5 separate regions of the Homo sapiens genome follow, and all the other regions are linked to region 1. Evidence: promoter capture Hi-C in 16 types of primary human blood cells and fetal thymus (Javierre and others, 2016). All regions are on one chromosome and are shown on one strand. The core of a region is centred on a gene start or on the middle of the fragment in contact, and the rest is flanking DNA. Distances in the headings are between cores, read along the strand shown. Region 1 holds the start of MAP2K6 (mitogen-activated protein kinase kinase 6). Region 2 holds the start of PRKAR1A (protein kinase cAMP-dependent type I regulatory subunit alpha). Region 3 overlaps PRKAR1A (protein kinase cAMP-dependent type I regulatory subunit alpha). Region 4 overlaps KCNJ2-AS1 (KCNJ2 antisense RNA 1). Region 5 has its middle 140 kb from the start of LINC01482.

What was found. Contacts are between HindIII fragments. The CHiCAGO score rates a contact against its expected background, and 5 or more counts as called.
Region 2: a contact is called between the fragment with the promoter of PRKAR1A here and the fragment with the promoter of MAP2K6 in region 1, in 4 of 17 cell types (activated CD4 T cells, total B cells, erythroblasts and 1 more). The highest score is 7.8, in activated CD4 T cells.
Region 3: a fragment that was not itself captured here is called in contact with the fragment with the promoter of MAP2K6 in region 1 in 1 of 17 cell types (activated CD4 T cells); the score reaches 5.7 in activated CD4 T cells.
Region 4: a fragment that was not itself captured here is called in contact with the fragment with the promoter of MAP2K6 in region 1 in 1 of 17 cell types (naive B cells); the score reaches 7.2 in naive B cells.
Region 5: a contact is called between a fragment that was not itself captured here and the fragment with the promoter of MAP2K6 in region 1, in 3 of 17 cell types (M1 macrophages, total CD8 T cells and naive CD8 T cells). The highest score is 6.1, in M1 macrophages.

Annotation. Positions count from the first base shown.
Region 1 is chr17:69,413,413-69,415,975 of GRCh38, forward strand. It overlaps MAP2K6 (mitogen-activated protein kinase kinase 6), which reads left to right and starts at 1,285. Exons shown (of 12, transcript NM_002758.4): 1 at 1,285-1,588. The coding sequence starts at 1,573. The HindIII fragment of the contact is 8,167 bases long and covers 1-2,563 here.
Region 2 is chr17:68,511,162-68,513,724 of GRCh38, forward strand. It overlaps PRKAR1A (protein kinase cAMP-dependent type I regulatory subunit alpha), which reads left to right and starts at 1,269. Exons shown (of 11, transcript NM_002734.5): 1 at 1,269-1,387. RefSeq lists silencers at 450-809, 1,230-1,739 and enhancers at 743-1,316, 1,070-1,159. The HindIII fragment of the contact is 13,629 bases long and covers 1-2,563 here.
Region 3 is chr17:68,531,078-68,533,640 of GRCh38, forward strand. PRKAR1A (protein kinase cAMP-dependent type I regulatory subunit alpha) reads left to right here. Exons shown (of 11, transcript NM_002734.5): 11 at 1-2,354. Among named protein-coding and RNA genes, the nearest start is that of PRKAR1A, 20 kb to the left of the region's middle. The HindIII fragment of the contact is 247 bases long and covers 1,166-1,412 here.
Region 4 is chr17:70,165,198-70,167,760 of GRCh38, forward strand. It overlaps KCNJ2-AS1 (KCNJ2 antisense RNA 1), which reads right to left. Exons shown (of 1, transcript NR_036534.1): 1 at 1,764-2,563. Among named protein-coding and RNA genes, the nearest start is that of KCNJ2-AS1, 2.9 kb to the right of the region's middle. The HindIII fragment of the contact is 1,559 bases long and covers 492-2,050 here.
Region 5 is chr17:68,770,906-68,773,468 of GRCh38, forward strand. No RefSeq gene overlaps it. Among named protein-coding and RNA genes, the nearest start is that of LINC01482, 140 kb to the left of the region's middle. The HindIII fragment of the contact is 159 bases long and covers 1,215-1,373 here.

The DNA.
Region 1 (2,563 bases), core at 35-2,534:
CATTTTTGCCCATGCCCTGCTCACTCCTCTCCATTCCTTGCAGTGAATTGTGCTAAGCATCTCTGGCTTCCTTGTGAAAAAGGTGATGCCGTTCTCCATCAGGGTGCTGTGTACCCACTATGTGTGAGCGGTACAGAATGAATGAACATCCCAGGGCCCTAGAAAGGCGCCTGGCACATCCTGGACACTCAACAAGTATCTTTTAATTTTAATGAATAAATTCAAGATATTCGACTGTATTCATTTTCCACCCACTTTCCCCCTAGGCCAGGGACTCTCCTCCCAGGTGAGAAAAAATCATCTAGATACCTTAATTTTGATAAAGTTAGCGTTGATGTATAAAAAGCAGAACTTCCTCTGTAACCCTGTGAGAAATGAGAAGCCTCCAATCTTCTTCCCCACACCTACCCCCTACTGAGTTTCGGGTTCCTTGGAAATAACTGACCTGGATTGTTTCTGACAAAATAAAACTTTGCATCTTCTCCACAGAGCAAAGGTAACCTTACCTCCAGCCAACCCAATCATCCATACATTTTTCTTACTAGAAAAAATGTTTTTAAAAATGGAGGTGTGGCCGGGCGCGGTGGCTCACGCCTGTAATCCCAGCACTTTGGGAGGCCGAGGTGGGCGGATCATAAGGTCAGGAGTTCGAGACCAGCCTGGCTAAATGTTGACACCCCGTCTCTACTAAAAATTAGCCGGGCGTGGTGGCGCATACCTGTAATCCCAGCTACTTGGGAGGCTAAGGCAGGAGAATTGCTTGAACCCGGGAGGCGGAGGTTGCAGTGAGCAGAGATCGCGCCACTGCACTCCAGCCTGGGCGACAGAGCGAGACTCCCTCTCGGGAAAAAAACAACAACAACAACAACAAAAAAACCCCCAAACAAACAAAAAACGGAGGTGTGAGGGTAAAACGTCTACAGGCAAGAACAGCACAACAGGTGCTGAGCTGCAAAATCAACACACTAAACTCCCAAACAGACCTTCTCGACAAGCCAAAAGCTCTTTAGCTAACCTAATATTCTTTAGCTGTTGTTTCAGAGGCTTTTCGAGAACAAAACTGCCGCCCCGTCTTGGCCTTGCCGCTTTTCACCCATCACTCTACTGAGTGTGTGTCTGACTTGTTTATCTGGACGCAATCTTTGTCGCACCCAGTTATCTCGCTCAGCGACCGGGGCGACCACGTTTCCTTAAATCAGAGCCCCGTGGACTCCGCCGGAGAACTACATTACCCAGCGGCCTTCGCGCCCTTCGCAGGAAGGACGTCTGCGCACTAAGATACTCAGTTCCAAGTTTGGAGCTTTTAGCTGCCAGCCCTGGCCCATCATGTAGCTGCAGCACAGCCTTCCCTAACGTTGCAACTGGGGGAAAAATCACTTTCCAGTCTGTTTTGCAAGGTGTGCATTTCCATCTTGATTCCCTGAAAGTCCATCTGCTGCATCGGTCAAGAGAAACTCCACTTGCATGAAGATTGCACGCCTGCAGCTTGCATCTTTGTTGCAAAACTAGCTACAGAAGAGAAGCAAGGCAAAGTCTTTTGTGCTCCCCTCCCCCATCAAAGGAAAGGGGAAAATGTCTCAGTCGAAAGGTAAGAGGCTGTTTGCATTAGTTGCAAAAATGCAAAGGGTTGTGCATGCATTTATGAATGCATGGATGCAATTTTCGCCTGGCGAGTGCATTTTTAAGTTTGAGGTTTTCCACAGCTCAGTTGCATTTCCTGTTTAGTATGTGTCTTTTTTTGCAGACACAGAGAGTTCCTGTAAGGCAGGGCTTGCAGTTCAGCTGTGCATTGACGTTATTTGCATTCTTCTGCTAGGATTACTGAGCTCTTTTTGCCTTTTGCACAGTCAGGAGAGACAGAGCAGGTTGGTAGCGTCTAAATGTGCAAGGCTTTATATAATTGTAAAATTCTTTACTATGCACAGATATTGTAAGTAATTTTGTATGCAACAGGAATAGAAACTTTTAAAAACTCTATAGGTGAAGATGAAAGGTAAAACTTGAGTTAAACTACTAGGAAATTAATGTAATCTTATATTCTTTGGGGGAAATAGACCGTTGCGGTGCCAGTATTTAGCTAAATTTCCATTGATATCGCCTTGAACATTAGGTAACTTTTGATTTTTAAAGGAAGTAAAGGTGAAGGGTGAATAACAGCATATCACAAAAAAGCAGACGAGTCTTGCTCTTCTGAGATTTTGCACTTTACACCAATTGCTTATTGGCTCGCAAAATTTAGAAGCAGCAGTGAAGACCTAATGTTTTATGTCTGCCCATTTGGGGGATGCTTTGCATCTTGGGGGAAAATATTGGGGGTAAAACTGTACTTTTAAGCATTACAGTAGTGTGAAGGGACTGCACTGTTTCATTGACAAGCATAATGAAATATTTTAAGTGTGTAACTGCGTGTATTTAGTCAGCTGTAATAGGTTGGAAGTTCACGTTATGGTTGTTTTCTTTATGTTCTTTTATTTTCTTTTCTTAATTTTTGTTTTTAAACACAGTTGTATTTTGCAGGCTTAATGTCACCCTGGGAAGGGGATTTAAAAAATTCCTGATATGA
Region 2 (2,563 bases), core at 19-2,518, 900 kb before region 1:
AGCTCCTGGACACTTGCATATGTGTGTATTTTGCTTTTTTGTATTGTGTTGAATCCATTATGAATTTTAAGCACACGGCCCTAGAAATATATACAATGCTACTAAAGCAGCCCCTAGCCAGACACTTGGACATGTTTCCTTGATGGGCCTTCTTTATTGAGTTACAGACTTGATGTGTCTAAAATTGTACCGTCTCCCTTTTCTTCCTCCTTAGACAGATACTCTGATGGAAAAAAAAAATGGCTGAAAGAGTAAAGTCGCTTTTCCTCCGAATTTTCCCCATTAGTGCAGCTTGTCTGGACAGCTGCGATTTCTTGTTGGGTCACAGGGCATTTTTGACAATCTGCACGCTCTGCACTTCTCCCTCTGTGAGGTCAGGAGTGATGGGGGGGCACTTCAGGTTCTAGAAGGACTCAGGCCTCCTCTTGGACCCTGACAAAGTCCTTTCCCGTGCCTGGTTTCCACAGGGACGGTGTTGCCTGCACAGACGACAGCACCCCCGGCGGGGGAGAGCGGCCCCAGCGGAGACTCGGCAGGGCTCAGGTTTCCTGGACCGGATGACTGACCTGAGCCCGGGGCCCGGGCGGCGCTGGCCGGGCACAGGATGCGCGGCCCGGAGAGCGCATCCCGGCCATCCGCCCGCGCTCGGCCCCGCAGCGCAGCTGCTGCAGATCCGCGGGGGCCGCCACCTCCTCCGGGGGCTGGCAGCGACAGGACTCTCCCCGCCCCGGCCCGGGGCCCTCCCTTGCAGGGGCTGCGGGGAGGAGTCGCCCACCTGTCATCTGAGACGCCCCACGTGGGTCGGCCAGGGAGGGGGTGGAAAGGAGGGAGAAAAGGCAGAGGCGTCAAGGGAGGCCGGAGGGAGAGTGGGGTGGACAGAGGAGCGGAGGGACGAGAGGGAAGCGCACGATAGCTGCGCGGAGAGAGAGCGAAGAGCAGGCGGAGGAACAAAGGCGACCCAAGACACCCAGAGAGGGACAGGTAAGGAGGGGCAGGTGAGCAGGAAGGAGGAGAGAACCGGGCTAGGGAGACTGCGGAAAGGAGAAGTGGCGGGCGTGAGGAAACTGCTGTGGATAAGGGACGAGTAAGATGGAAAGAATGGCGGAAGACGAACGACCGCAGAGTGAGGGTCCTTCCAAGAGCGACCAGGGGGGAGGAACTGGGGCTGTTGCGCCCTTAAGGTTGCTAAGGCGACGGTTCTGGCCAGAGCGAGGCGCATTGACGTCAGTAGCCGAACGCTGATTGGCTGCGGCCAGGCCGTTTCCGGTGGAGCTGTCGCCTAGCCGCTATCGCAGAGTGGAGCGGGGCTGGGAGCAAAGCGCTGAGGGAGCTCGGTACGCCGCCGCCTCGCACCCGCAGCCTCGCGCCCGCCGCCGCCCGTCCCCAGGTGAGTGGGGTCGGCCGGGGGCTCAGGCGAGGTGAGCTTCGTCGCTTCGCAGCCGGTTTGCGGGAGCTGGACCGATCCAAGATGGCGTCACGGGGAGCGACCTGCAGGGGGACGGCCGCACCCCCTGCCCCTCCCCGGCCCGGCGGGCGCCTCCCCGCAGGCCTCACGCCCCCGGCTCCGAGTCTGCATCCTCAAGGCCGTCTGGGCGTTGGCTTTGGTGCGGGGCTCCCCAGCCGCCCCGCTCGCGCTCGCTGCCCCCACCCCACGGCTCCTGGGGCCCTGGGCCCTCCGCGGCCCTCCCCGGCCGCCTTCGCCCCCGCGCGCCGCGGCCTCTTCGCTCACCCTCCCCCATTTCCTGAAGGACAACGGCTCTATTTTACTGGGGTCCGCCATCGTCTCGTCCGCCGGTCCTGGCTCTTCTTGTAAGCCGGTAGTTTTCCTCTCCACTTTTGACGACTCGTCATTGCTAGCAGTAGCCTTTCCTCTTCATAGCGGAGTGATCTTTCCCCCAACACGACGGTCTTAGTCGGGCTCCTGAATTTCCTCTTGTCCCCTTTCACCTCTCTCCCTTTCCCAATTTTGCCCCCCTGAGGCCTCCTCGCCACCACTGTGGCCTTCCGACTGGCGTAGCTTGAAGTCTCGGCTTCCCTTCATTTTGTGGTCATGACCGTGGCCTACGTGAAGTGAAGGGCATTTTCCTGCCCTTCTTCTAGAAAATACACGGTACCTATTAACCTCTTCAGCTCAGAGCCTGTGGTGACGACCGTCCTACTCCTTGAGAGATTCCCAAGAGATCCGTCTTTTTAGCAGAGCGAGGAAAGCAAACACTTACTCAAGATGACCCTAGGGGAGCCGTAACTTGGCTGGTCTAAGGGGGTGCGGTCTGAATCAGGAACAGTTTCTCAAAGTGTTTTTATTTATTTCCCAGAATGTAATCCTTTCGAAACAATTTTGTCACAACTGAATTTTCAAAAGAATGAATCTGAGTGTTTTGTTTTACATAGAGACAATGCAGCGAAAGTTTTAAAGCAGTTAAATAATTGTGTGTGGGGAGGGAAGGCTAGGTTGTTGGGCTTTACAAATAAGTACACATAGAGAATCCGGGTAACTCGATTAAAAATATTAAGACTGTGAAGTCTGGTTATTCAGGGATTTACATGGTGACTGCATTAATTT
Region 3 (2,563 bases), core at 39-2,538, 880 kb before region 1:
TATATCTTGTTATTAATGTTTCTTCTCCAATTCTGAAATACTTTTGAGTATGGCTATCTATACCTGCCTTTTAAGTTTGAAACTAACTCATAGATTGCAAATATTGGTTAGTATTTAACTACATCTGCCTCGGCTCACAAATTCCGATTAGACCTTTATCCAGCTAGTGCCAAATAATTGATCAGATGCTGAATTGAGAATAAGAATTTGAGGTCTACATTCTTGGTTGTTAATTTAGAGCGTTTGGTTAAAGTATGTCCTTCAGCTGACTCCAGTATAATCTCCTCTGCTCATTAAACTGATTCCAGGAGATTGGATTTGCTGTGACTAGATACAGATGGAGCAAATGTCCTAACAGAGAAATAGAGGTGATGCTGCTAAAGGGAGAAATGCCAGGCGGACAAAGTTCAGTGTCGGGAATTTTCCCCGTGACATTCACTGGGGCATGAGATTTTGGAAGAAGTTTTTTACTTTGGTTTAGTCTTTTTTTCCTTCCTTTTTATTCAGCTAGAATTTCTGGTGGGTTGATGGTAGGGTATAATGTGTCTGTGTTGCTTCAAATTGGTCTGAAAGGCTATCCTGCTGAAAGTCCTGCTTTCCTATCTAGCATTTATTTCTCTGGCAAACTTTTCTTTCTTTTCTTTTTTAAAGTAAACTTGTGTATTGAGTCTTAACTGTATTTCAGTATTTTCCAGCCTTATGTGTTACATTATTCCAATGATACCCAACAGTTTATTTTTATTATTTTTTTAAACAAAATTTCACAGTTCTGTAATGTAGGCACTTTTATTTTCATTGTGATTTATATATAAGGTAATGTAGGGTTATATTTGGGAGTGACTGCAAGCATTTTTCCATCTGTGTGCAACTAACTGACTCTGTTATTGATCCCTTCTCCTGCCCTTTCCCAGGTAATTTAAATTGGTCATGGTAGATTTTTTTCATAGATTTGAAAAACTTTTAGGTTGTTACCAAGTATGAAGTATAAATCTGGGGAAGAGGTTTTATTTACATTTTAGGGTGGGTAAGAAAGCCACCTTGTTACAAATTTTTTAATTTCCAAAATAATCTATATTAAATGAGGGTTTCTGATCTGTACTTTGTGTTTAGCTACCTTTTTATATTTAAAAAATTAAAAATGAAAATTACGTTCTTACAAGCTTAAAGCTTGATTTGATCTTTGTTTAAATGCCAAAATGTACTTAAATGAGTTACTTAGAATGCCATAAAATTGCAGTTTCATGTATGTATATAATCATGCTCATGTATATTTAGTTACGTATAATGCTTTCTGAGTGAGTTTTACTCTTAAATCATTTGGTTAAATCATTTGGCTTGCTGTTTACTCCCTTCTGTAGTTTTTAATTAAAAACTTTAAAGATAAGTCTACATTAAACAATGATCACATCTAAAGCTTTATCTTTGTGTAATCTAAGTATATGTGAGAAATCAGAATTGGCATAATTTGTCTTAGTTGATATTCAAGGCTTTAAAAGTCATTATTCCTGGGCTTGGTAAGTGAATTTATGAGATTTACTGCTCTAGAAAGTATAGATGGCCAAAGGACCGTTTTGTATTGCTTCCTGATTACCAGTCTGATTATACCATGTGTGCTAATATACTTTTTTTGTTATAGATTGTCTTAATGGTAGGTCAAGTAATAAAAAGAGATGAAATAATTTAAATTCTTAAATGAATCAGTTTTTCTTCCCTTTCTCCTTTCCGTCTTTCCTCTCTCTGTCCTTCCCCGAAAGTCTACTCGGGTGGGCAAAAATGAAAAGGGGGAAAGTGAATTATGGGATCGGTGTTTTGAAAGAGCAATGTTTATTTTCAGTGCTTTTCAGTTTGTCAAAGAGTGGATCTCAAAATCTTGCTTAAAGGGTAATTGAGATGTAGCAGATTTATTTACTTAGTCATGGAAAGAAAAAAATTCAGTCAAAAGCTAAAGATTTCCTTTTGATTGAAGACAGATTGGTTCTGTGGCCTTGGAACTTTCCCAGACTTAATGGGGAAACATCATTTCTAGATTAGCATACTCTTTGGTTTAAATTTAATATATACATTTAATGTTACTTAGGGATACTTTTATATTTTGCATATATAAAGCCTCATATATAAAGCCTTATTTCTGATGCTCTTAGATTTCTGAGGAGTGAGATGATTAAGTTGTATTCATTAGTGTATTGGTATTTCTTCACATCCAGTGAAATTGGAGATATGTTGTATGTTAGAAGAGCATTCTTTAAATTGTGTTGCTTTGAACATGTGTACCTTTTCTAGATTCAGTAATCCCTTCCCCCCGTCCTCTGGAGTATGAAACCTTTAGAGTCACAATAAAATGTAACTAAAGAAAATTTCTCTGGGTTGACAGTCCTGGTTATAGTTGAATTCTCTCTAAACAGTGGCCCAAGTAGACTCTTTTTTTTGTTTCTTTTATTTTTTAATGATTTAAATATTGACATTTAAAAATTGAAGTAGCATGTCAGTTTTCTTCATACTACTTTATCTCTAACCACAAATAATAGCTGAACCTTTTGTACTTATGTTAGGCCCTGGCAGTGTA
Region 4 (2,563 bases), core at 21-2,520, 750 kb after region 1:
ACGGATAAAGTAAGCACTGAAATATTTTCTCAATACATCAGTACATGATTTTATGTGTACATATAAACATATGGATAGTTGCAAACACGCGGGTATCTCACTTACTCAGAAGTTTTCCTCAGCTATTTATAACAGCAAATACAAAGACTAAGCCATTTAAATGCTCTGAGAAGCAAAATAGATGCCATAAATCCAAATCCTGAAGCTTTTTTACCCAAAAAGGAGGTTGACCAAGCGAAGGTAACTCCAAATTCAGCATCTGCTCATACTATTTCAAAAATGCATCTTTAGATATGTTAAATCATATTTGCTTGTACATTACTTTAGCAACCTTGGTTACATAATTTATCAGCCCAGCACAGATTAGAATCAACAAATTAGGCAGAGCATGGTGACAGTCTGACAGATTCAAGGCACATTATCAGAAGCAAAAATGAGAACGGAAGGCTCACATTGATGGAGAAGGGAAAACAAGCAGAAGGGCTTAAATAAGCTTAGTCTAGGGTCATTTAATGCAGGAGAAAAGGCTCTACTGTAACCTGATAGGCCTACTGTATTGCAGGTAAAAAATGAAATAGCTTATGTTTATTATAATCATATTGAGTAATCATCAAAAGTTATACTAAAACATACTGTTCCTTTCATTCATTTCCATGTAACTGACATTTATTCTTAGAAACAACTTATAATTCATATGCTTGATTACCTGTATATAGAAAGGTCTGGGGCATAGCAGGCATTTAAGAAATTAACTGAATGAGGAGCCACTCCTATCTTCTGACGTGTTCTCAGCATCCTTAATACCACTACACATAGTAATATGTCATATGTATTAAATCTTCCATTACAAAGTCTTACCCTGCTTCATTCCATTCTTCAAAATCTAAGATTATCGTTTTATTTGTTGCTTGATCCATTTTAGTGCATAATCATAAGCTGCCTTATATTGTTGTTTAATCATTTAAATGTTTCACTTCTGCCTTGTTCATCTTCTCAGTTAGACATTTTGAACTCTTAAGAAGAGGAATTACTCCCGCTAGGACACTTCTGTCTTTCATCTCACCTAGCATATAGCCAAAGTACAACGTAGTTATTTCAACAAATACGTTCACTGAATTTAAAAATATGAAGATTAAATATTATCAATGCAGTAAGTGAAACTAAAGGCCAAAACTGTTTTCCAATAAATAAGATTACATACAGTGCCTTAAAATACCACAGTAAGTGGCTTGTTCTCATAGCAGCAGATTGCAAACTCAGCCTGTCTACATTTCCGGGCAATCTGACAATGATTTATTTACTATTTATTGCTAATGATGATTACTTTGAAGATTAGAAAGTGGTTTTTAATATCCAGTGGATACAAATGCCAGGAGCGTTTGATGTTTTACCATTGTGAATTTGAACTGCATATACATGGTTAATGTAAGTCTGAAAGTATGTCTAATTGTTGGGGATCTTTATATAAATGCAAAGGAAAGATCTGTGCTTCTAGTGAAACAATCACCTTCTGCGTCACACAGCTATTCACAATCTGACTGCAGATCCAGATTGTGACTAATATTTGGCTCTAATATTATAGGTGGTTACCGTGGAGAGAATCAGTAAGAGCATAATTGTCATTTCCTTGGAAAAATTTAATCCACAGATGGATCCCAACACCCAATTGCATTCGTGTCCAAGACTAATGGGGATTTTTGCTAAATAAGGCCTGATTCAGCCAAAAAAGATAGACTCTGAATACAGAAATCTGCATCACGCATCACTTCAAAAGATGTATTAAATCAAACACTGAAAGCATTGGCACACAGAATTTTCCTAATAGGGACATGATGAAAAGTCATTTATTAATTAAAATGCATTTATATTTTCTTTTTTTAAAATGAAGCAATGGGGGTATTCTACGCTACCATACATTTACAAAATTTCATTTGCAAAATTTCATCCTTCATACTTCCTTATTTAGCTAATTAAGGTAATGATTCTACTTAGATTGGAAAGTTCTAATTAAAATCATTAATTTTTCCCGAACCTTCTCCTTCAAGATCTAAGCTTTGCTGCACATCCTTCAGTCTTTGGGAGGAGAGAATGTTGGGGGATGTGCTGCTGATAATTGATGAGAGAGAGCAGGATACATTTATTATGACCTTCCTCCCGCTGCCCAGCTAAATTTATACAGCCAACCATAATCTAATAACTCTGTGTTCCTTTCTTTAAAGATTTTCCTATCATATGAAACTATTTCGGCCTGTGGTGTATTCTTTCTAATTAGAGTAGAATACTAAAGCAAAACCATTTCAATCCAAGTTGCATAAAAATGCCATCCCTTTCCGAGTGACTGGTTTTCAAAGCGAGCTCATTACCTGGAAAAACAACAACAACAAAAGTGTTGCCTCTCTGAATTCACGTGGTTTGGAAAATTCTTAGCCATCTACAGATGCACCAACTGAATCATAATAAAGAAGAGAAAATCTATAAATGATTAATTTCCTTTTTCTATTTAGGCTTAACATGTTTTAAGGGATAATTAAACTTTTGGCCTGTTTCTTAGAAGTCCAGGAGG
Region 5 (2,563 bases), core at 44-2,543, 640 kb before region 1:
TCTTCTACAATGGTTGAACTAGTTTACAGTCCCACCAACAGTGTAAAAGTGTTCCTGTTTCTCCACATCCTCTCCAGCACCTGTTGTTTCCTGACTTTTTAATGATCGCCATACTAACTGGTGTGAGGTGGTATCTCATTGTGGTTTTGATTTGCATTTCTCTGACGGCCAGTGATGGTGAGCATTTTTTCATGTGTCTGTTGGCCGCATAAATGTCTTCTTTTGAGAAGTGTCTGTTCATATCCTTTGCCCACTTTTTGATGGGGTTGTTTGATTTTTTCTTGTAAATTTGTATAAGTTCTTTGTAGATTCTGGATATTAGCCCTTTGTCAGTTGGGTAGATTGTAAAAATTTTCTCCCATTCTGTAGGTTGCCTGTTCACTCTGATGGTAGTTTCTTTTGCTATGCAGAGACATAGCTTCTTATTTTCTATACAGGACCTGGAAGGAAAACCTGAAAAACCCATGACACTCCCTTTCCTGTTAGCTGTGTGGTGTTATGAAATGGACTGACAGGATTTAGCTTTCCCAGCACCACTGAAGGACCCTCAGCAACTTCAAGTTCAAAATGTCCTCACCTTCGCCTGATTTTGGGAAGTATTGCATCAACACGTTTTTGCAAAAAGAATGGAACTTTAAAATTTTTTCTTGGCGTTCTCTTTCTCTTTATACATGAGCAATAAATGTGTGCAGAAGTCATTCTAGCCAACAAGATTGTCAGGCCGAGACGGGCAGATCACGAGGTCAGGAGATCGAGACCATCCTGGCTAACACGGTGAAACCCCGTCTCTACTAAAAATACAAAAATTAGCCGGGCATGGTGGCGCGCGCCTGTAGTCCCAGCTACACGGGAGGCTGAGGCAGGAGAATGGCGTGAACCCGGGAGGCGGAGCTTGCAGTGAGTCGAGATCGCGCCACCGCACTCCAGCCTGGGCGACAGAGCGAAACTCCGTCTCAAAAAAAAAATAAATAAATAAAATAAAATAAAAAATAAAAAAAAAAAGATTGTCACCAGCTGTATTAACCTAAAAGTAGAGGAAGAATGAAGAATCCCTGAAAATCACATGTGCTGTGCTGCTGAGTGATGGCCTTTAAAACGTTGAGATTCATACGCCCTGTAGAGGGCAATGTTTCCCCTTGCCTAAAATGTTTTCACTATTCGAAAAGCATCAGTAAGTCCAAGGAGCGACATCCCAAGAGGGCAGAAATTAAGAAAGCTTTCTGGGTTCAGTATTGACTGTAAATGCCCACTGGAGAGGAGAAATCATCGATGATAGCCTTGACTATTGCTAGAATCTCTTCCTTTAGATTCCTGGGGCTAGAGTTGAGGATTTCACTTTAAGAAAGATTGAGACAGAGTGAAAGCAAGAGAGAAGCTTGTAAGAAGAAGTGGGAGGATGTTAACAGTGAGAGCTGGGAATTTGCTCATGAGGCCGAGTGGCTACCACAATCTCCAGTACAGGCTGAATGTGTGTCGTTCCATTCCGCTTCTACCCTCTGTAAGAGGCCTGCCCTGTTCACAAGGCCAATAAGGGGTTAGATTTTAAGGCTTGTTGAAAATAAACTTTGGTAATCCCAGTGCTTAGAGCCCAGTGACATAGAAAGGAGAGCCTTCTTCAACTTTTGGAGAGCAAACTTCTAGGGGGATGAGGTGGGAAGTTTACTTGGGGGAATCCTGCCCAGGGCATCACCTCAGCTTTCTGATCCTTGGTTTTTTTTTTTCCAGGATCCCAAAGAGAGGCACAAATGGTGTGTCCAAGCTTCAGATTGAACTCCTCTGAGACTTTTCTCTTCTCCATAATCATAGCTAGATGAACAGAAGGATGTGGCCACCACAAATTCAATGAATGTGTATACCTTTAGAATATTTGTGATTACACAAGTCCCTAGAGGCAGGTGGGGGCAAAGACTTCTTTGTAAAAGTCCAAAGGTGTCTTAGAAATGTGCAAAAGTACAAGACTTACTGAGGTACAGAAAGCAATGGCTCTTATTTTCAAAGGGAGCCCAAGAAAAGTTCTTTGAATTTTTCGTCTGGCCCTTTTACTTTTCAAATTTCTTATTTTGTCACACTTTGTGGTTGTAGCAATTTGTGAACAGAAAGCATCTCATCCTTTGCTCAGCATGGGCAGAAGGGACAATGAGCACCTCCTTGGTTGCATGTAGATTTTTCCATAGCAGAGTGAAAAAAGATTGGAAAAATTTGTTCCAGCATCCTTGCATGGAAGTAAAGACTTCCCATGAAACCAAAAGTATAGTTTCTCTCTGACATCTCTTGAAATAAACACTTCTTAGTCAGAACTATCCCCCCATAGATGGCACTTTAGGTTGGGCCAAAAATGGTAGAAAGGATATGGGATCTCTGCTTCCAACAGCATTTGACAATTATTCTACTAGAAAAACACATGCACAGTATGTTGATTGCAGCACTATTTACAATAGCAAAGACTTGGAACCAACCGAAATGCCCATCAATGATAGACTGGATAAAGAGAATGTGGCACATGTACACCATAGAATATTATGCAGCCATAAAAAAGAATGAGTTCATGTCCTTTACAGGGACA